7 separate regions of the Homo sapiens genome follow, and regions 2, 3, 4, 5, 6 and 7 are each linked to region 1. Evidence: promoter capture Hi-C in human tissues and cell types (Jung and others, 2019). All regions are on one chromosome and are shown on one strand. Each heading gives the region's core, a stretch centred on a gene start or on the middle of the fragment in contact. The rest is flanking DNA. Distances are from core to core; before and after follow the strand shown.

Region 1 (2,964 bases), core at 316-2,815:
TGCGACTCGGTCGCGTGGTGCGGAGTCCAGGGCTGAGAAGGCAGCGCACTAAATATCTCTGTATCAGGTAAAAAAGCCGTTTGGTGATGACTCGCCACCAGGCAAATGTTGGGAGTCCCAACGATTTTTCCCGTGGAATGCACCGAGGGTCGCCATGGATGTGCCTGCAGGGGCTGTGAGTATCAGGCAGATTTATCACCAAGCGAGAGTTGGGCGTCTAAAAGGCCCGCCCAGCGTTTTAGAGAACTCAATTCTCTCTGCCAACGTTCATCCAACGGGACTGCTTAGACACGTCCAACTAGCCCTAGGCGTGGGCAGTCGTGCCCCTGCGACCACTCTGGGGGACCGGTCCCTGCGTGTCCTCCCTCTCTGGGATGAGAGAGTTCGAGAAGCCGGGAGAGTAACCCCCTCCCTCGTACCCCCTGACTGTCCTATAGGTGGACCCAGCCGAACTCCGCAGCAGCCCAGGCCAGCGCCCCACCTCCGGGTCACCGGCATGATCCGCCTCTCCCCGGGCCCCCGCGGCCCTGGCACCCGAGGTCAGCGGGCCGTGGGTACAGCTCAGCCGCGGACCCTGCTCCGCGAGTGCGGGAGCTTTGGACTTGAACGCGACGTGCTCGCCCGGCTCCCAACAAACTTGCAATTTCCGCGCGCACCCCTTAAACAGGAACTGTTCCCCAAACCTTGACCCAGCTACCCCGCTGTGCTCTGGCCCGCGGACCTGTGTCCGAACCCGGGCTCGGCTGCCGGAACCGGTTTGAGAAAACAAAAGAGTTGTGGGGCAGTTTTCCCTGTGGGGGGCAGGGGCGCCTCCCAGGTCCCTGCACCCCGACTCCCGGCTGCTCCCCTGGCAACTAATCCGGAGAAGGGAAGTGGTGCCACGAGCCCCCACTGCCCGGGGAGGGAGGGAGAGAGAAGGGGGAACTGGGAAATAAACTGAATTCTCTTACTCTGCCTCCGTTCCTGGACCCCAGACACACCCCCAAAGTATTCCACGGTTTTCTCTTATTATTTTTTTAAACGCCCCCCGGCAAACCTAGGCAGGGATCCTTAGCCGCGAACAGCAGGAAGGAAAGAATCCGAGCAAATCGTGTCACTTTCCGCACAATCGCGGTGTTTGGCAAGCCCCCGGAGCTACTCCACAATATTTACTACCCAAGCGCACGCAGGCTGCAGCGGGCTGCGAGCCGAGCGCGCCCGGGACCGGCCTCCGCCAAGCCGGCCCCGCCGCGGCCCGGCCACCGCCGCTCCCCTCCCAGGATCAAGCAGCAAGAACACGGTGGAAACAAAAGCAGAGCGTTCACCTTGTTGCAATAGTAGGGGTCCAGGCAGGGAGAAGGTCCCAGACAGGGAGCGTCGGGCGCAGCGGCGGGCTGGGCTGGAGGTGGATAAAATCTTACGTCCATTTCACTCTCACATCAAGCAACTCCTTTTCTTTTTCCTTTTTTAAAAAAAAGTGTTCAGCAAAACAAGCTTAGACGGAACAGAGTGAGGTGTCTGGGCTCAGGAGTAAAAGAAACACCTTCCTTCCCTCACATCCGTTTGTGGTTTGTTTAAGAAGAAGAGGAAAAAAAAAAAAAAGAGGGGGGAAAAGCGCTCAACTCTCCCCCAAGCCGCGGCGCGCACCCGTCGGCGCCGAGCGCGCAGCCTGCTCCACCGCCGCCTCTTGGTCCCGCCGCCGCCGCTGCCGCCGCCGCCGGGCAGGTAACTTCATGCGCTCATTGTCCCCCCCGCCCGCCCCCCCATCCCCGCCTCCCGCGCCCCTCGCAGCCCGGCACACGCGCTCGGGCTCTAGGTACTGGGCGTTTTATTGGAGATTCTGAGTTGTTCTGCTTGTAGTTTATTTTCTCCACCTTGGAGGCCCGGGATGTGGGGGGTGGGGGGGTGGGGCGGGGATCCAGAAGGGACAGGGCGGGAGGGGGGCGAGCGTCCCGGGCCGGGCGGGGTAGGGAGCGCGGCCGGACGCGGGCTCGTCAAGGCCCAATGGCTGCTGTTCGGAACCAGAGGCCGGGGACCGGAGAAAGGAGGAGCGGAGAAGGAGAAGGAGGAGAGCACGGCCTGGCTGGGACAGAAGCGGTGGGACCCTGGGAGGCCTCCGCTGTGCCCGTGCCGCGCTCCTCGGGACCAGCGCGTCGCACACAAAGGGGCTGCCGAGCCAGAGCCACCAGCGGCCTCAGGGCACCGTGGGGAGCGCGCAGCTAGGGGGCGCTGTGGCGCACCCCGCCCCGCAGCCCCGCCCCCGGCCCTCCCCGGCCCCACCCCACTCCCACCGCCCTCTCCGCGGCCGTCCCCACCCCTATCTCCGCGACCCCCACTCCTCCTCGGCTGTTCCCCAACCCTGTCACTGTGCTCCCCTCCCTACTCCCGGCCCGTAGTGGAGGTGACTTTCCTGCGCAGCGCCGCTTCTGAGGGCGGAGAACCCACAGGGAGTGCGACCCCTTTGCACGCTGTGAGTGGGCAACTGTCCGAGGGACTCGAGCCGATCGAAGGGTGAGGACCAGCTCGCCTGGGGGTGGACGGCCTGGAAAAGCCGCCCCTCTTTGGCTTCCCTCTGCCGCCTGCAGCCCGCACCCCTCCGAGATTCGTGCCCCACTGGACGGTTTGCGAAGGCTGAGGCTGCCTTGGGGACTCACAAAAGACCACAGGGGTGATTCGAAGTGTAAATAGGGAAACAATCATCAGCACACAATCCGGCTAAAGGGATAACATATGAGTTTGCTTGTTGTCCTTCATGGGATTCTTCTCTTTTTATAGCTGGACGCCCTATAGGGCTCTTGGCAGTCCACGAAAGACCTGGAGTCCGCCTCCCCATTTCTCCGGTCGGTGAGTGGCAGGAGGAAATCGCCAAACATGTTTTCCCGCTTTGCCTCCCCAACTCGGAAACTTGCAACTTGCCGTGTCCTGGAGGTTGAGACAATTTGGGGTCTCTTGGCTGCCGTCCAACAGATTTATCTCTGAGGGCAG
Region 2 (2,964 bases), core at 180-2,679, 500 kb after region 1:
TCTTGGTTTCAGTAAAGTTGGCAATTTAAAAATAAAAATAAAATAGATTCCCAACAAAGGAGAAATTCTCCAAAGGAAAAATTACAGGAAATATTCAATGAGGAAATAAATTATATATAAAGTTAATAACAAAAAATTAAAAATGTTCTAACCACTTGGATGTAAAGACTATCAGAAAGTAACAGTAGTGGGAAGAGTCCATATTAAAATCCTAAGAGAAACGTATGTACTAGTAGGAAAGTACCCTTAAAAATCTTAATATTAAGCTTTTTAGTATTTAGATAACGAAGAAAAAAATACTGAGTCAGTTTGTATATTAGAAAGGAATTAATAAAATAAATTGAAATATTAAAAAAGAAAGCAATTAGTATAAGTGGTAAAAAATTAATGATTTAGAATATAAGAGACTAACTGATTAATAAATCCTAAAGCAAAGCACATTGTTTGAAAACTACGAAAACTAAACAGATAAGGTAAATGTGTTATATAAGTAACAGAAAACAAACACAGATGTAGAAAAATATGAATTAGTAGATAATTATAAGATAAATATATAAAACTCTATCCTAATAAATAAGAAAGTATTAATGAAATGGATGATTTCATATTAAAATGCATTACTTTAATTCTAAAAAACCAACTAAGATTGAGAAAAAGTTTAATGGAACATTACTATGTTGCTACTTTAAAAGAAAAGTCTTGTCATAGGATTATTTTTAAAAGATGCTGAACTGAAATTGCTTTTTCAGCTTTCTGATGGTTTCTAGTGTGTGTATGTCCAGAGATAGATATGTAAAACCAAACAAACATAAATATTTATAATTCCTATTTCTTATTTATTAGAACTTTCAGTACGATGTTAGATCATTGCAGGCCAATTACACTTATGAAAATATTCACAAAAATGAAATAGAAAATTGAATCCATCACCATGTTAAAGAACATGTAATAATGAGTTATGACTAAGTAGAGTTTATGATGAGTGCAGGGATACATTATATTAAGACATCTACAAAAAAAGGGGAAAAAAGAAATCTACAAATATAATTAATCATTTTAATAGTTTACTTTAGTAAACTATCTTATTAGATTATACTTCCTTACTATATTAAATAGTATATTTTATATCAATAATCTATATAGAATTAAATCTAGATGTATTTCCATTAAAGGCAGAGGATCACACTTTTTTATGCTTATCTTTAAAATAATTGGGAAATATAACACAAAAATAAAATATGAAATATATAAATTTAAAAAATAGGAAACCATAAAATCAGAAGAAAACATACAATGCTTTTCCAACCAAATAAGAATAGTTTTCAGGAAAGAAAAAAAGAGTAGATAATTATAAAATTAACAAATGCTATGAACAGACAATTTACAAAGAAATGCAAATATTCAGTAGACAATGTACAGATGTTCAACCTGACTGGTGATTCAAAACAAACAAAGTTAATAGTTACATTTTTATTTATCAAATAGAAAATGTTTGAAAATACAAGAAGCCTGGTGTGGTCAAGGTGCTAAGAAAATAGGCATTCATGTACACTGTTGATAGGAGCAAGAACTGGCAATTTTTTTTGGTGGAAAAAAATTTAATATGAACCTAAGTCTTAAAATATGAGTTTGAATTCCATCTCTCCTATAGCCCCTTTGTACAAATTTAACCTAAGGGAAAAATGCACTAATACAAACAAATGCTTTCAAGAATGATTTTCTTAATTACTTAATTTCTTAACAAGATGCAGTGAGATCTCCCACCTAATCTTCAAGGTAGGAGTCAGTTTTACAGGCCACAGTTTTTCAACCCTCAGCTTCTTTGAATGACACCATACGCTTCTACTGAATACGTGCCCAGATTGACCCTCCAGTCCATCTTACAATGTGAACGACACTGGTTACTATGGTTCTCCTTCTGCCCCAGTCAGGAGGAAGGGCTTCTTCCAGGATGAGGAAGCCCTTGCCAAGTGACTGGGGCAGGAGAACCATAGTAGACCTTGCTCTAATTTTGGTCACAGCTGTTCCTGTGGAATAGAGCTTCATAAATGTAGCATTATACAAACAACAGCTACGTTTACTGTGTAATTACCGTGTTCCAGACATTGTTTTAGTACATTTTATGTATTTAATACATGAAATAACCTGATGAGGTAGGTAATTCTATCTATATCCTTGTTTTAAAGATGAGAAAAGCAAGGCATAGATAAGTCAGTAACTAGCCCATAGTCACCCCAAAGCCACATCACACCCAGCCCCACTGCATTGCAGCTCCAAACAACACTGGTGAATGCTTTCACTGTTTGTATACGGAGAATTTATTGAAAGATTACATTTTTTCTAGGCCAGTGCTCTCAATGGAGTATCAGTGTGTCCTACAGCCTGGCAAAAAACTCTTCAGAAGTACACATGTTCCTCACTTCTGTATCAAATTCAGATACATGCTTTAAAAGTGCGGGAGGAAGAAAAGAAAATAGCAATGTATGAAGACTAAATAGAGAAAACACAATTGAGCAGCAGAGGGAGAAATCAGAGGACAGAAGTGTGAAAAAACAATAGAAGGTCTTCCTCTGCGTTGACCCTAGGTCCACAACTCTAGACGAAGTGCTAAAAATAACTTCACTATTCTCAGGGGAGAGGGAAGGAACTGTGAAGTTTTCTGCTCTCACACTTCAGGTTTCCATAAATAGTTTCAATACTTGTAGGCTACAGGGGAGAAGAATGAGTCTTCTCATGGTTTTTGGACATAAGGGATGTATATTGACCTCTGAGAATTAAATTTTAAATCACCATAAAATAGATGAGAACAGAGATATACAAATCCACTGTAAAGAAACTGACTTTTCCAGGCCAGCAAGATTTTGCAGACACAAACCTGAAATGTATTTCTTGGAACATGAGTCCTATAAAATGTCCTTCAGAGGAAAACCAAAGCTTCTCTTGCCCACATTTTGGAGATTCACA
Region 3 (2,964 bases), core at 316-2,815, 410 kb after region 1:
TAACTAATGTATATACACAGATGTGATCGTGATAATCTTACTACTTAATAGTGATTATTGAATTGGAATTCATCTTCAGTGTTCACACTGCAAGTGGTTTGGAATGACCAGAAGTGGAATAAGAATTGCACTTGGGTAAAATAGAAAATGAAGTAAAATTGCTTCTTGAGCATAGAGTCACTATATCTATCTCTAGCACCCAAATACTTGGGAAGAAAAGTAAGCCTAGTACTCTTGAGACAATGGACGTGATTAAATATGATTAAGTGTGATTTTTTAATTCTTACAAATGTGGAGCCTGCTGAAGATCGGCTTCTATGGAGTCCCATTGATTTAATTTGGGCATACTGTAATTTACTGGGCTGGAGTAGAAACAGTAATCCGGCGAGGCCATCATAAGCTCATTAGAAACACACTGGGAATGCTTAATGCCGGACAACCCACAGCTTTTTACATCCATTTTATAGTGATCCTCTCTTGCCTTGCCCACTGCTCACTACTGCATGCCATTGATGGTGTGGTCGTTTTCAAACACACCCCAGAAAATGAGAGGTATTTTTTAAAACAAGATTTAAGTCACCAAGAAACATATAAAACAGCATTTCTAGTATAAAACAACAACAACAACAACAACAAACTTCTCGTGTTGTTAATCATGGTAAGATTGGTTAGCTGTTAAGTACTGTAGAATGCAACTAATCAAGAGCTCAAACATCCTACACAATGAAACAGAAATAATTATTCTCCCTGAGCTGCTATTGTTTCCTGCCTCAGCCATCCATGGACTAATAAAAGGTTTAATTTTAAATGGTGCGAAGGAAATGTCAGTGTTACAAAGAAATACAATGTAAAGCCACTTTGCTCACCATCAGGTAAAACACATAAGGAATTAGACCTTAATAGACTAAAGCTAAGTGAAGCCTAAACAAACCTGAGCAACCACTCCCCTCTAGCCCCGTGCAATTTTTTCTCCTTGCTCCTAATTGATATCACCACATTAAAAAAGCCTGGTTTCCAACATCCTCACCTTTCAGATGAGAATGTTCTGATAAGGTGTGAGAGCTCTGGTTATGAGGTATATGTGTCTGTGCTTATGATATCAGTTACGCACAGTGGGTGATTTAGTTCAAACAAGGGACGTTTATTCTGATGTTTCACAGGAAGAGAGGGGGAGGCAAGGGCAAAGGAGAGAAAGATGGCTTAAAGGCTTCCTGCATTCAAATGCTGTGCCTGTTTCCATTTTTACCACCTTCAAAAAAAAAAAAAAAAAAAACTAAGATAACATTTTAACATTTAAATCCAAAGCTTGTTTTTGAAACCAGTTTACTAAGAAAGTAATGCACACTATATGAATAATGGAAAGGGACAATTCTTCTGAAATCTTTATTGTGGATTTTGCAATATAATTTGACTGATGTCAAACAGAATCAGCAAAGAGAAAAAAATATATTAGGAAAGCATGTGCATTAACCAGTTAATGTTTATCACATGGTATCCTTCTAAAAAACCAAAACACCTTGGGAATTTCAGAGGATTTGATTATATTTGTTTATTCTTTTATCTATCTACAAATATATGTTAATTACTCACTGCTTCCTTGTATTACGTGTTATGGTTGCTTCAAATGCAGTAAATAACATTTTTTCCCTGAAAGAATTACAGTCTATTTTTTTAAGTCAGACGGTAAAGCGTTATGCACTAGCTGGGAAACAGTTCCATGCTGTACCCAGTAGACAGCATGGATGTTGGAACTGGCTAGTCCCAGGGCTCAGATTCCGGCTGCTCTTACAACAAGTCACGTCAGCACTCTGGGCCAGTAAAATGAAGGCAGTAATACCTGTTGGCTGGTTGTGAGAATGAGAGAAGATGGATAATGTACGTAAGTACCTAGTGCAATCTCAGGCACACAGTTAGTTCTCAAAAATTTGTAGTTCTGTAGGGAAGGAAAAAATCATTTTCTCTCTACCTTTCATAGTTCTTCATTCAAATGGACCCCACTAACAAAAGACAGATTAATAAGAGAAAAACAAACAAGTTTAATAACATGTATATCTCATGTTTACATAAGAAATACCTAGAGAAATGAGAGAGCTTTGAATTCAGGCTTAAATACCACTGTCCATGGAAATAAAGAATGAAGGGCCCAGGGAAGCTCAGAAATGAGAGGTCACCAGGAAAAACACTGAAATTGGTGCCTTCCCTATTGACAAGTCTCCAGTGATTTGCAGCCATCCTTCCCTTCCTGGTCCTGAGAGAGAGACTCCCTTACAAATGAAGATTTCCTTTATAGTTATACATTTCTCTTACAAAAGGATAACTTCTACCCTTGTTTTCAGAGCTTCTCTGGTTTCTGCAGTTTCTCCAAACTATCAGCTCAAAATAATCCTTATATCAAAGAAGCATATTTTGGGGTGGCATATTCTCACCTCCTATAGGTCTAATAACCAAAATAATAGGACATTACATGACTTGTATTATATTTTATATTTTTCCCTCCTCTTCCAGGCATTTGCTTCACTGCCACCAGCATTATATTTTCTAAACTACCGTTCTGTTAGTGTGATTTTCCTACTCGAAGTCATTTGTCTGTAGCTATAGTTTTCAAGCATTTTTTAATAGGCAATTCGTTAAAAAAAAAATAAAACCCTACATACAAAATGAATAAAAAAGCAATATTTTAGTAGTATGAAATATTTTAAGCTTTGTAACATATACTTATTATAAGGCAAGAACATAAGAACAATGAGATACTTTTAATAACAACGTTAATGTATTCTATAATAATTTTAAAATGACAGCTAGGAATGATTGTGAAGTCTTGTATCAGTCTCAGCACTAAAGTTATCTTGAACTTTCATTTCATTTGTGCAGAATAAACATGATATTTCTTCATAAAACTAAGTAGTCATTAATGATGAGATATTTTTTATAACCCAATTTACAATCTCATTGTTAAAGTAATTT
Region 4 (2,964 bases), core at 279-2,778, 410 kb before region 1:
GCAGCATTATTTATAATAGCCCAAGGTGGAAATAACCCAAATGTCCATCAGCTGATGAATGAATAAACACAATGTGCATGCAATAGAATGTTATTCGTTCATGAAAAATGAAGTACGTATACATGCTACAACATACATGAACCCTGAAAATTGAAAGAAGCCCTCCACAAAAGACCATATATTATGTGATTCCATTCATAAGAAATGTCTAGAAAAGGGAAATCTATAGGACAGAAAGCAGATTCATGATTGCCTAGGGCTGGTGGGGAGAGGGAGGATACACGCCTGGGGGATAATAGCTGAAGTGTATGGGATTTGTTTTTGGTGTGATAAAAATATTCTAAAATTGACTGTGGTGATGCTTGCATATATCTGTAAATATACTAAAAATCATTCAAGTGTACACTTTAAATAGATTAATTACAAAGTACGTGAACTATATCTCAATAAAGCTGTTAAGCAAAGGATGAGAGTCATGACGTCCCTGCTTTTGATACGTAGGAGCTGAAATCAGAAGTAGTCCATTATGACACAGTATGAATTACTGTTTCGTTAGTAAAAATAATTTTTGTAGATGAATATTTATTTATACTGGATTATGTTTATAATATCTTGTTAAGCAAAATGATCTATAAAACCATATGTATGTTTCTATTTTTGCAAAAAGATATTTCTATACAGATGCTCCTCAACTTATAATGGGGTTATGTCCTGATAAACCTATCATAAATTGAAAATATCATAAGTCAGAAATGTATTTAATACACCTAATCTACCAAATATCATGGCTTAGCCTGTCCTACCTTAAATGTGCTCAGAATACTTACATTAGCCTACAGTTGGGCAAAATAATCTAACACAAAGCCTATTTTATAATAAAGTATTGAATATCTCATGAAATTTTTTGAATACTGTGCTCAAAGTGAAAACAGAATGGTTGTATGGGTACTCAAAGTACAGTGTCTAGTGAATGCATATCTCTTTCACACCATTGTAAAGTTTAAAAATTATAAATGGAACGATTGTAAGTTGAGGACCACCTGTATATAGAAAAATATATGTAAGGATAGTTGTTAAAAGTGGTTATTGGTCAGATGCGGTGGCTCATGCCTGTAATCCCAGCACTTTGGGAAACAGTGGTGGGGGGATCACTTGGGCCCAGGAGGTCAAGACCAGCCTGGGGAACATAGTGAGATCCTGTTTCTACTAAAAATAAAAAATTGAAATTAATAAAAGAACATTAGTCAAGCGTGGTGGCACATGTCTGTTGTCCACGCTACTTAGGAGGCTGAGGTGGGAGGCTTGCTCGAACCTGGGAGGTTGTGGCTGCAGTGAGCTATGGTTGTGCCACTACACAACCTATGGGACAGAGTGAGATTCTATCTCAAAAGAAAGCCCCCTAAAGTACAACAAAAACGAACAGCAAAAACAAAGGTTATCTTTGTTGGTGATATTTTGGATATTTTAATTTTTCTCTTTCTGCATATCTATATTGTCTCTAGTGAACTAATCTACTCAATACTGTGAAAAATATTTAAAAATTATTTTGTACCTCCTATAACACAATCAAAATCCCAAAGAATGTGGCTGCAGCACTGTATCTTGAAAAATTCTTTAAGAAATTTTAAACAAGCATTTACCCTTTCATAAAGAAATAATTCCAGGCTGGGTGTGGTGGCTCAACCCTATAATCCCAGCACTTTGGGAGGCCGATGGAGGCGGATCACCTGAGGTCAGGGGTTCAGGACCAGCCTGGGCAACGTGGTGAAACCTCGTCTCTACTAAAAATACAAAAATTACTTGGGCATGGTGGTGCATGCCTATAATCCCAGCTACTCAGGAGGCTGAGGCAGGACAATCCTTTGAACCGAGGAGACAGAGGTTGCAGTGAGCCGAGATCATGCCACTGCGCTCCAGCCTGGGTGACAGAGTGAGACTCCACCTCAAAAAAAAAAAAAAAATTCCAGTAAAAGAGTCATAAAATCCTTATCTTTGAGCATGCCTTCCAAGATTAACAGGCTGGGAAACGTATACTCTGGTAAATGGACAGGGTAATTACAGAACAGGGCAATCTCTTAAACATCATTTCATTCATATACAGATATATTATACTGGAATATGTCTAGGTTTCTTGAAATTACCAGTCATGTCATCAAATTTTTTTTACTACTTATTCCAATCACAGGAACATATTTAGAATCTGAAACTGAAAGTGTTTTTTTTAAATCATATAACATTACTTCCTTTTACTTCAAGTGCTTCCATTTATAAGATTATTGATCTGTTTGTGTCCTCCCCCAAATTCATAGGCTGAAACCTAACCATCACTGTGATGATATTAGAAGGTGGGGCCTTTGGGAGGTAATTAGGCCATGAGGGCAGAGTCCTAATGAATGAGATTACTGCCTTTATAAAAGAGGCCCCAGAAAGCTGCCTTGCTCCTTCTACCATGTAAAGATACAGCGAAAATATGCCGCCTATGAACGAGAAAATTGGCCCTCACTAGACACTGAATCTGCTGGCACGTTGGTCTTGGACTTTCTGTCTTCCAGAACTGTGAGAAATAAACTTTTGCTATTTATAAGTTGCCCAGTTTACAGTATTTTTTTATAGGGGCCTGAATGGACTAAGACAGTCATCCTATGTGTAAGGATATTGGTTAGTGTCACAAATGAAATAATATATTTTGTATGGATTTCAAGTTATTTGAGCTATTTCTCTGTAAGTATACTGAATGCGAACTTTTCAAACAGGCAGAAATGCTAATGGGCATACAGAAAACAAAAATCAGGAAGCAAATCAATCATATTATATTACCCAGCATTTATCAGACACCTACCAAGTACCAGGCACTATTAGGAACATTGCAGGCACTATCTTTTTTTTTTTTTTTTTTGAGACGGAGTGTTGCTCTATGGTTCAGGCTGGAGTGCAGTGACACGATCTTGGCTCACTGAAACCTCG
Region 5 (2,964 bases), core at 152-2,651, 390 kb before region 1:
TTATCTTTTGGGGTGCTAGGTTTTTTTTCTACTCCCATCAGTGTTCTTGATTTTTTTTTTCTAGGACACAGTTAAGTTACTTGGAAACAGTTTGATCCTTTCAGGTCTTGATCTCAATGTTATTGAGCAAGACTGGAGCTATACTAAGCTTAGGGACATTTTTCCCTAATGCCGAGGCAAGACTCTTCTGGGTACTCTACCCGATGTTCCTTGAATCATGAGGCTTTCCATTCTGGCTGGTGGAAACCCTGGGCACCATTACCTCTAATGTTTTGTGTGTTTTTTCCTCCAGCCTCTGGTGGTTTTCTTATTTGTGTGCCCCAATCTGTACCCATCTGAATACCTGTGGCCTTTGTTGTCCACCTAGTGTCTTGTGAGTCATTATATCATTTTGTTGTTGTCTTTGGCTGTTTCAGGTGGAGGATAAGGCCAGTCCTGGTTTCTCTATTTTAGCAGTAAGTGTAAGTCTAAAATGTGTTGAATAAATGTCAATAAAATGTTTGTTCTACCTTTTTTTTCTTCTCTTTTTTTTGAGATGGACTTTTTCTCTGTCACCCAGGCTGGAGTGCAATGGCATGATCTTGGCTCACTGCAACCTCTGCCTCCTGGGTTCAAGTGATTCTTCTGCCTCAGCCTCCTGAGTAGCTGGGATTGCAGGCACATGCCACCATGCCTGACTACTTTTTGTATTTTTAGTACAGACAGGGTTTCACCATGTTGGTCAGACTGGTCTCAAACTCCTGACCTTGTGATCCATCCGCCTCTGCCTCCCAAAGTGTTGGAATTACAGGCATGCGCCACCATGCCCAGCCCTGTTCTACCTTTCATGTTGCCCCACATAATGGAACACAAACTTAGTGTGACTGTTTACATGTTTCTGAACTTAATTCAAAATTGTTTTCATTCAGTCAAGTTACCTCACTTACGTTTGCATTTAAGAAGAGACAATATAAATGAAAGGAGTGAAAATGAAATAGTTAACTACAAAGATGAGCTACTTAACAGGATCAGGATAGCAAGACCGTTGTAAGTTTGCTCGTGCCTGTCCACCCTACCAGTTTCTTCCCTGGCACTTTGAAATAACCACATTTAATTGTCCAAAAATATTTTCACATAACATTTCTAAATGTGATCTAGTTAGATAGTACAATAATAACTCTTCTAAATAGCTAATACCTATTTGCATGGATAGAATCATGATCCATGTAATTCAACTTATTCGAGTTCAACCAATATTTGCTGGGTGCATTCAATGTGGTGAACACTGAGTTAAGCCTAGAGAGGTAGATGAATAAGAAACAGCCTCTGCCCTAGAGGAGCTCACAGAGAGGCAGAGCTGAGACGTGAGTTGACAATATGCTAAGTGCTGCAATTACCCTAATTATGGGTTGCTATGAGAGCACTGAGGTGGGCCACCTCCCACAGCTCAGGAGGATGTGATGGTTGTGATTGAGGGGGTGTAGCTGATGCCAGGGGTTACCTACTCCTCTCTCCTTCTTTCTTGCTGGAAGAGCCACCTTGATTCAGTGTTGGTATTCACTCTTCTCTTCCAGGGCCAGAAAATGAATGTTCACAAGTCTAAGCCAATCGAAGTGCTTCCCTTCTCCTGGTCACTGATTGGTTTAGGTGTGGGCCTGTAACACTGTCCTGGGAAATGAGACTTAAAAGTCATTCTTTAGACAGAACTCAGTAAAGGTTTGTCTCTGGATAGAAGGAGACAAGCAAGGAGACACCTCCTTTCCTGGCTTTGACTACAGTTGTGTGAAAACATGTATAGTATCCACGCTGTGATCATGAAAGGACATGCCTGAGGATGAACCCTAACAGAGTGAGGATGGGAGAGCAGAAATAGGGCAAGCTGTTGGGTCCTTGTTGATATCATAGCATTCCTGAAGTACAAACCTGGGCCCTTCTTTTCTGTCTCTGTATGTTTTGCTGTTTATTGTTATATAAGATAACACACCTTTCTTGTTTAAGCCACTTTCCATTATTCTGTTACATGGACTTAAAAGATTCTAACGGATACAGAAGGTTTCCCAAAGTAGTGAAGATTAGTTCGTGCTTTAAAGGGCCAAAGATATTCACCTTTGGGAGTTGATGGGTGGAAGAATGGGAGCAGGCCACTCCAGGGAAGAGCTTGTGCAAAAGCTTAGAAACACAGAGCAATATGGAAGGTTTGAGATAGGACAAGCGTTTCTCACATGGGTAGGATGTTGATTGCACATAGTAGATATCCAATCACTATCTGTCGCCTGATCACATTTATGTTTTTAATTATGTTAAATTGAGTCCAAGAAATATTCTTGAGTGTCCATGATATTACAGGGATTTTACAGGCATAAGTGGCAGAATCTGTACGGATATCCATCAAAACCCCAACTTCCTTCTAAAGTGCTAAAAATTAAAACATTTTTCAGACTCTATTAAGAGGCTTGCTATGGACTAAATGTTTGTGTCCCTTCAAAATTCATATGTTGAAACCCTAATTCCCAATGTGATGATATTTGAAGATGGGGCATTTGAGAGGTAATAAGGTCATGAAGCTGGAATCCCCATGAGGAGATTGGTACCATTACAAGAAAAGACATGTGGCCAGGCGTGGTAGCTCCCACTTGTAATCCTAGCACTTTGGGAGGCAGAGGCGGGAGGATTGCTTGAAACCAGGAGTTTGAGACCAGCCTGAGCAACATGACAATACCCCATCTCTATAAAAATTTTTTAAAAAATTATCTAGACATGGTGACATGCATCTGTAGTCCCAGCTACTAAGGAGGCTGTGGTGGGAGGATCAATTGAACCCAGGAGGTCAAAGTTGCAGTACGCTGTGATCGTGCCACTGCAGGCCAGCCTGGGTGACAGAGATTCCCGTCTCTAAAATTTTTTTTAAAAAAGAGAGAGAGACTTGAGACATAAGAGAGATTGCTGTTTCTATCCCTCTATCTCTCTCTCCTTCCTGGCACGTGA
Region 6 (2,964 bases), core at 316-2,815, 370 kb before region 1:
AGATTATCTTCCCCAAATCAAGACAGAGCACAGACTTGGATCCAGACTTTCTGAATCATTATCCCATGTGTTTAGCAACCCCATTTGGCTTAGTTCCCAAATGTAGCTGGTGTGACTCACAATGACATGAAGTCTCCTCTCCAGGTCGGCTCTGAGACCCTTGGGTTCAGATTCCCTCCAGTATCTCCTTCTGGTGTTTCAGCGTAGCAAGGGAAGCCTATAGTGGTGTGTAGATAAAATATCTGAAAAACTGGCTTATAATTTCAATATTCCCCTTGAATTCTTGCTGTCATACCAGAACATTTCACAGCTTACCCAAAGGTTCAGAAAGAAAACCCAGGTTTTCTTTTTCTTAAGCCAAAGCTTCACCTTCTCATCTACTGGATTTTTCCACTGGATCTAAGTGAAGTTTGTTTCAAGGTGTGGCATGCAGACAAACAGATCAAACAGAAAGAACATCTCTGATTACTCTGATTTCTGTAATAAGATAGAGCCTATAAGACATTAAGGACTGGATGTGAGGGACAGAGGCAGCTCTCTGGCTGACTGTGCCTGATTTCCATGGCCCTCTGCAAGCCGGCACCAAGTCCTAGCCCAGGCACAGTGTGCTGTGAATTTGGAGCTCTTGGAAATTGGCATGGGCTTGACATATAGCTAAATATATTTTGATACCTTGGAGACAGAATTTAGGATGTCTTGGACATGAGAAATTGGAGATATTGGTGGCAAAAAGAAAGAGTAAATTGTGATCATCATTGGGACTTCAAAATGAAAAGATCACCCAGATTGACATGAAATGTTCTAGCAGTCCTTCCTGAAGGGAACTTCTACCCATGACAAGGTGCTTTTTGTTTTTGTTTTTGTTTTTGTTTTGTAATGTATATATTGGTCTCTAGGGAGCATTTTGAAAATTGGAGCTTTGACAAAACTCCCAGGGCTTTAGATCCTGGTGTCTCTCTCTCTCTCTTTTTTTTTTTCTAGTTGTAAAATAGAAATCTAAAATGATCAAAAAAGATAAATAAATATAGAAAGATCAAAAAATAACAAACATTACCTCCTAATTACTTATCTTTTCTAAGCATCAGTTTCTTCATTGGTAAGATGGAAATAATAACAGTACTTCACACATCTTTTTTTTAGAATTAAATTAAACAATCCCTGTATAAAGGTGCTTAGCATATTGCCTTATTGCTTAGCACATAGTAAAAAACTCATAATAAATGAAGATATTATTATTAATGGTATTATATTAAATGTGACCATTAATAAACAATATAAAATATCTTGATTCCTTTGGTAAACAAAACTCCATCTCTAAATTGAAACTAACGGTACTCTGGGGTCGTCACTGCCTTTGGATTCAGGCTTAAGAACTCATTGGTGCGAGGCCGTGTCCACTGTGGTTCTTCTGGTAGCTAATATCCCTTGGCTGGGGGCCAAAGCACATGAGTTAGCTGAATTTTATATGACAAGTCTAGGCCATCCTTTTTGGTATTTATATAAGAATGCTTTTAGGCTAGTTTTAAAATCTTTTATTTTGTGACAATCTGTGACTTCACTTTTATTAAGTTACTTTCTCTACTATTTTAGAACAGATTGGAACAATTTGATTATAATACAAAATATTCAGTGCTAAATAGTCTATCTTTTTATGCACAATATGCTAACCCTTGGGGAGCTGAGCTGACCTCAGATTTTGGGCTTACATTTGCTTTTCCCACACTGTGTCAACTTAATGAAGAAAACAAACAAAACAAAACAAAACAAAACAAAAACACAACAGAAACGAAACCCCCCTTTATCTCAGGGAAATGGCAGATTCTAATTGTAAAGGTTTATCTTCTTTTAACTATGGTCTAGGAGAGTAGTTTTGCTACTTTATCCCAGCTCTAATATCACAAGAAATGGAAAATTCATGCATGCAAATATTGTTTATGAATATAGGCAACTCTAGATGCATTTTTTATGAACATGGAACATTTGGCTTTGCATCTGGTAGTGTGGAGAATAACAAATCCGGCTCTGCACCCTAGGAGACATCCAGATTACTTTATTATTACAATGTTTTCAATAACTCCAGGCACTTTTCAGACACCTGGATATTCATGAATGGTTTAAACCTCCCTGATAGCATTTTATTCATACAACTTTTTGAAGTTAGAGATCATTTGAGTTAGCTGGGTTTCTAAAAGCATGTGGAAAATAAATGCAAATCTTAGACCTCCTAATATGTTAGTGCTTTATTTCAGCATTGCCACTCTTTTCAAAGATTGGCCAAATCTTTGGGGCTTGTGATGGTCACCATTGAAGTTCAAGGCTTCCCTCTGGAACACATCGTACTTTCTGTTAGTCTCAAGTCATCTAAGTCTCAAGTCACTTTCTTGATTTGTGGTGGGATAAATGTAATTTCTCTGTAGAACTTAATGTAGACATTGATTAATCTAAATTAGTCTTTCACATCTTTATAAGTAACTCATCATTATGATATCTAACATTTAAGTTTTTTAAGTATCTCTTAGAAATCTCTGGTTTTCATCTTACCCAGGCACTCTATTGTTTGAAAGGAATTGGATGGAAAAAGAAGACTTGGCTTTTAGTACAAAACCCACTAGAGAGCCCTTGGAAAGTTTATTTGTGCTCTTGTATATTTTGACATTCACTCAGTAGGTGAACTTACACAGAAGAGAGCCGTGTCTAATAGGACTGTCTGATTCTATTTATTTTTTGTTATCATCTTGCAGTGCTGTTTTTGGCACACAGTTATGGAAGTCACTAGTCTCCCAAAAAAACCATGGATAATCCTGTGCCAATCACTTCAAGTTGCCCTAAACACCTCAACATTGACATTTTCCATGCAGTAATTCAGCTTTTTGCTTTTGAGAACAACCAGGAATGGTGTTAAGGAGCGATGCCTCTTTTCTCATCTACAGGTTTTATTCCTAAATGTTACTTTTAACATCTTTA
Region 7 (2,964 bases), core at 272-2,771, 290 kb before region 1:
AACGCAGTAACAGCCAATTTGCGACATGAGATAACAGTGTCTAATGCTTATAGACTCAGTCCATTTCTCTGAAGTTACCTTCTGAAGAATTCCATAACGGGAATTGTATCTTTAATAACATGAAACCAATCAGTCAACTCTTGGGTATTTATAACAGGAAGAACTAGTGTTTAAGATATTCTAGATCACTAAATATTTTTAAGCGGTGTTTTTATTTTCAAACAAAATGATGTGATTTATAAACATTTTTGGGTCCTGCTTACCTCCTAATGCTGCTGTAATGAGTCTAGAACTTAGAGTTGGCATGTCCTCAGTAAAGGCCAATGGCATGGGGGCCTGGAGGCAATTTAAGAAAGGGATATGGAGAAGTAGAAAGTTGGCTCAGGTTGAAGAATGTACTGTGACTAATCCACAAAACCAATCATCCACAGGTGGACAATATTTTAGAAATGGCCCAGGGGATGCTGCTCTGGTCTTTTGGAGCTGAACGAATATTTCCATATCGTATAGCTTTGTTTGTAATTTACTTTTTTTTCCAACAAAGAAGATTGTGCAGAATCGTTAAAGTGATCTTTTATGCCTTTAAGTGACTATCAAAGTCTGCGCCGAGATGGCCACAATCCTTCACAATATCACACAACTGCACGTTACCTTGGATACAAGGCTGGCTCTGTATGCTGCGAGTTGCTTCAGGTACTCCTTCTTCGCAGCCTCGGTTTTCTTTTTATAGACCTGCAACAACAGCAAAGAGTCTTAAATTAGAAAGTGCATTTGCTTTTGTTTTCAGAGAAGTACAATATAGAATGATAACTGCACACACAAACACACTTATAGTTATATAATATAATAATATATATCTCCCCAAAGATTGTGTTTTCTTACTGAAACAGATTTTTAAGAAGTATGGCAATAGACTAGAAAAGAAAAAAAAAGTTAGCAACAGTAAAACTTTACACTTTTACATAAAACATATGAAAGGTTTTATCTGGGTAGATATGAGTGTAGAGGTAGTTGGCTTACAAAGATACTATTGATGAAGGTTCCCAGGGAAACCACATGTGAGTAAACAAGGCATTCATATTTATATAATGGGCAGATAACTCCACAGCACATTCACATCCTGATATATATGTTCCACGCTAAATACAAAAACAAAGACAGAATTTAGAGATGACAAATCATGTTCAATAAGCAAATCAAAGGAAACAGAAGGGAGAGTGCAGGTTCATCACTGAGTTAAGATTTGGAGCCTTGAAGTTCTATTTTCAAAGACTCAGGAAACAGTGATGGTGATTAAGGACACGTTTGGGAGAGGAATGGGAAGCCCAAGTGGCTGTGGATTGCATGCATGCCCTGCCCTGCAGTCCACTCTGGTCACGTCCTTTCCAAGAAAAACACTGGATGTCATGGGTCTGTGGACACCTCATTTTGAAAAGGTAAAAGTGTTCTGAAATGAATTTCAGTTTACAGAAGCTTTCCATTTCTGAGAGGGAATCATCTTGAAAATAAAAGCAAAATCATCCTAAATTGAGCAAAAGTACTGAAAAATGACTTGCTTGTATGCTAAAGGTCACATTGCTAAGTTAAACAGTGAGCAGTCATTAGAGTTGAAAATGAAAGATTAGCAAAGTGAACACACATGGCTCTCTGCTACCATTAAGTTGATTCTTTCAAGGCTTTAGAGTATATTTTTTGGCAATCTTTTGAAATCAGCCTGAAAGATCAAAATATTTTTCATCCTTCACTGTGTAAATGGAAATGTATTTTCATTGATACAGCTATTTTAAATTTCCCACATTTTGGATTTTACAGCAGGGCATAAGGCTTGGCTAATATTTTGTAATGCTGAACTCAAAAACAGACACACAGATCAGTATTGAAAAGTGGCTTCAGAATTAGTCAGAGTAGTTAAATATAAATTATGTCTAAAGACCAAATATCTGCCATTTGGCAGCAGGGGTCAATTTATGGTTTCAAATGCTGACTGTGGTTTGCTGAGCCCAACGCCAGCTATGAAATTCGAGATGTGAGAAATATTGTTTATTCATGAATATTTTAATTAAAGCAGAACATTTTGCTTAAGGTAAACAAATGACTAACCTTGTCAACAGAATTATAACAGGACTGTATGAAATGAATGTGCTAATTTTTCTCCTAAAGTGGGGGGCTTCAGCCTTGACTTCTGTATTTGGCATTTTGGTCTAATAAAAGCCAAGTAAAATAAGGAATTAAGAATTAGTACAATATTATCATATAATCAATGTGCCATCATCCTAAGTATGAAACTAAAGAAACTTTAAAAACTATATTTCAGAGTTTTTTTTTTTTAAGCACAAAGCCAAGAAATCCTTTGGTTCAAGCACAGGAGTATTCTAAATTTACTGAGTTAATTATTGGAAGTCAAATTCAAATTCTTTTTTGGAAATTCACACGTGAAAACAAATAAATGCTAAAGTCGAGTAAGTGCCTTTGAACAGTGTGATCTGTGTATATCGTAAGCCTTGGTGCAGCCATGAAACAGCTCTCCTGCTTTTCATTGATTTATTTTTTTTTGAGAGACAGATTTCTGTTTATAGTTTTTCCTTAAAGCTCTTCTCAAAGACATAATTTATAATTAATGACCTTAAACTGACAATGTTTACATTTGCTTTTAATACCTCAAAACTTTCAAGAGGGTTTTTCTCCCATACAGATAGAAATCCTATTCAGGACTTTGAAGCAAACATTTAGTCAATACGTCTTTTATGGTAATGCATTTTTGTATACCCTAAGCATTTCTATCATGCTTTTATTAATATGCTACTCCAAGTGACTCCCATTCAGCTAACTAGGATGCGTTTTGCTTTCAAAGGCAAATAGAATGCACTTTGGTTCATAGCATTGCCCACAGTGGCATTTTCTAAGTTGTGGCAGATAAGACAGTATTGCCAGATGGTCTGACTACGGCATCTATCATTTTTCTTT

Evidence for each region. The method cuts DNA at HindIII sites, captures the fragments that hold promoters and counts their contacts. A contact is called where the count stands out against the background at its distance.
Region 2: a fragment that was not itself captured here is called in contact with the fragment with the promoter of TOX in region 1 in 2 of the 25 tissues and cell types used here (H1 embryonic stem cells and heart right ventricle).
Region 3: a contact is called between a fragment that was not itself captured here and the fragment with the promoter of TOX in region 1, in 1 of the 25 tissues and cell types used here (mesendoderm cells).
Region 4: a fragment that was not itself captured here is called in contact with the fragment with the promoter of TOX in region 1 in 1 of the 25 tissues and cell types used here (stomach).
Region 5: a fragment that was not itself captured here is called in contact with the fragment with the promoter of TOX in region 1 in 3 of the 25 tissues and cell types used here (lymphoblastoid cells, mesenchymal stem cells and thymus).
Region 6: a fragment that was not itself captured here is called in contact with the fragment with the promoter of TOX in region 1 in 2 of the 25 tissues and cell types used here (IMR-90 fibroblasts and lymphoblastoid cells).
Region 7: a contact is called between a fragment that was not itself captured here and the fragment with the promoter of TOX in region 1, in 1 of the 25 tissues and cell types used here (dorsolateral prefrontal cortex).

Annotation. Positions count from the first base shown.
Region 1 is chr8:59,117,582-59,120,545 of GRCh38, forward strand. TOX (thymocyte selection associated high mobility group box) reads right to left here and starts at 1,566. Exons shown (of 9, transcript NM_014729.3): 1 at 1,305-1,566. The coding sequence starts at 1,406. It overlaps TOX-DT (TOX divergent transcript), which reads left to right and starts at 1,629. Exons shown (of 3, transcript NR_149031.1): 1 at 1,629-1,704; 2 at 2,376-2,490; 3 at 2,755-2,964. RefSeq lists a silencer at 2,091-2,310. The HindIII fragment of the contact is 9,409 bases long and covers 1-2,964 here.
Region 2 is chr8:59,614,039-59,617,002 of GRCh38, forward strand. All of the region lies in intron 2 of LOC105375859 (a long non-coding RNA gene), which reads left to right. Among named protein-coding and RNA genes, the nearest start is that of TOX-DT, 500 kb to the left of the region's middle. The HindIII fragment of the contact is 4,702 bases long and covers 1-2,964 here.
Region 3 is chr8:59,530,996-59,533,959 of GRCh38, forward strand. No RefSeq gene overlaps it. Among named protein-coding and RNA genes, the nearest start is that of TOX-DT, 410 kb to the left of the region's middle. The HindIII fragment of the contact is 3,363 bases long and covers 1-2,964 here.
Region 4 is chr8:58,711,913-58,714,876 of GRCh38, forward strand. No RefSeq gene overlaps it. Among named protein-coding and RNA genes, the nearest start is that of NSMAF, 54 kb to the left of the region's middle. The HindIII fragment of the contact is 8,977 bases long and covers 1-2,964 here.
Region 5 is chr8:58,731,016-58,733,979 of GRCh38, forward strand. No RefSeq gene overlaps it. Among named protein-coding and RNA genes, the nearest start is that of NSMAF, 73 kb to the left of the region's middle. The HindIII fragment of the contact is 5,232 bases long and covers 1-2,964 here.
Region 6 is chr8:58,752,279-58,755,242 of GRCh38, forward strand. No RefSeq gene overlaps it. Among named protein-coding and RNA genes, the nearest start is that of NSMAF, 94 kb to the left of the region's middle. The HindIII fragment of the contact is 8,904 bases long and covers 1-2,964 here.
Region 7 is chr8:58,826,171-58,829,134 of GRCh38, forward strand. It overlaps TOX (thymocyte selection associated high mobility group box), which reads right to left. Exons shown (of 9, transcript NM_014729.3): 6 at 652-732. Among named protein-coding and RNA genes, the nearest start is that of NSMAF, 170 kb to the left of the region's middle. The HindIII fragment of the contact is 6,763 bases long and covers 1-2,964 here.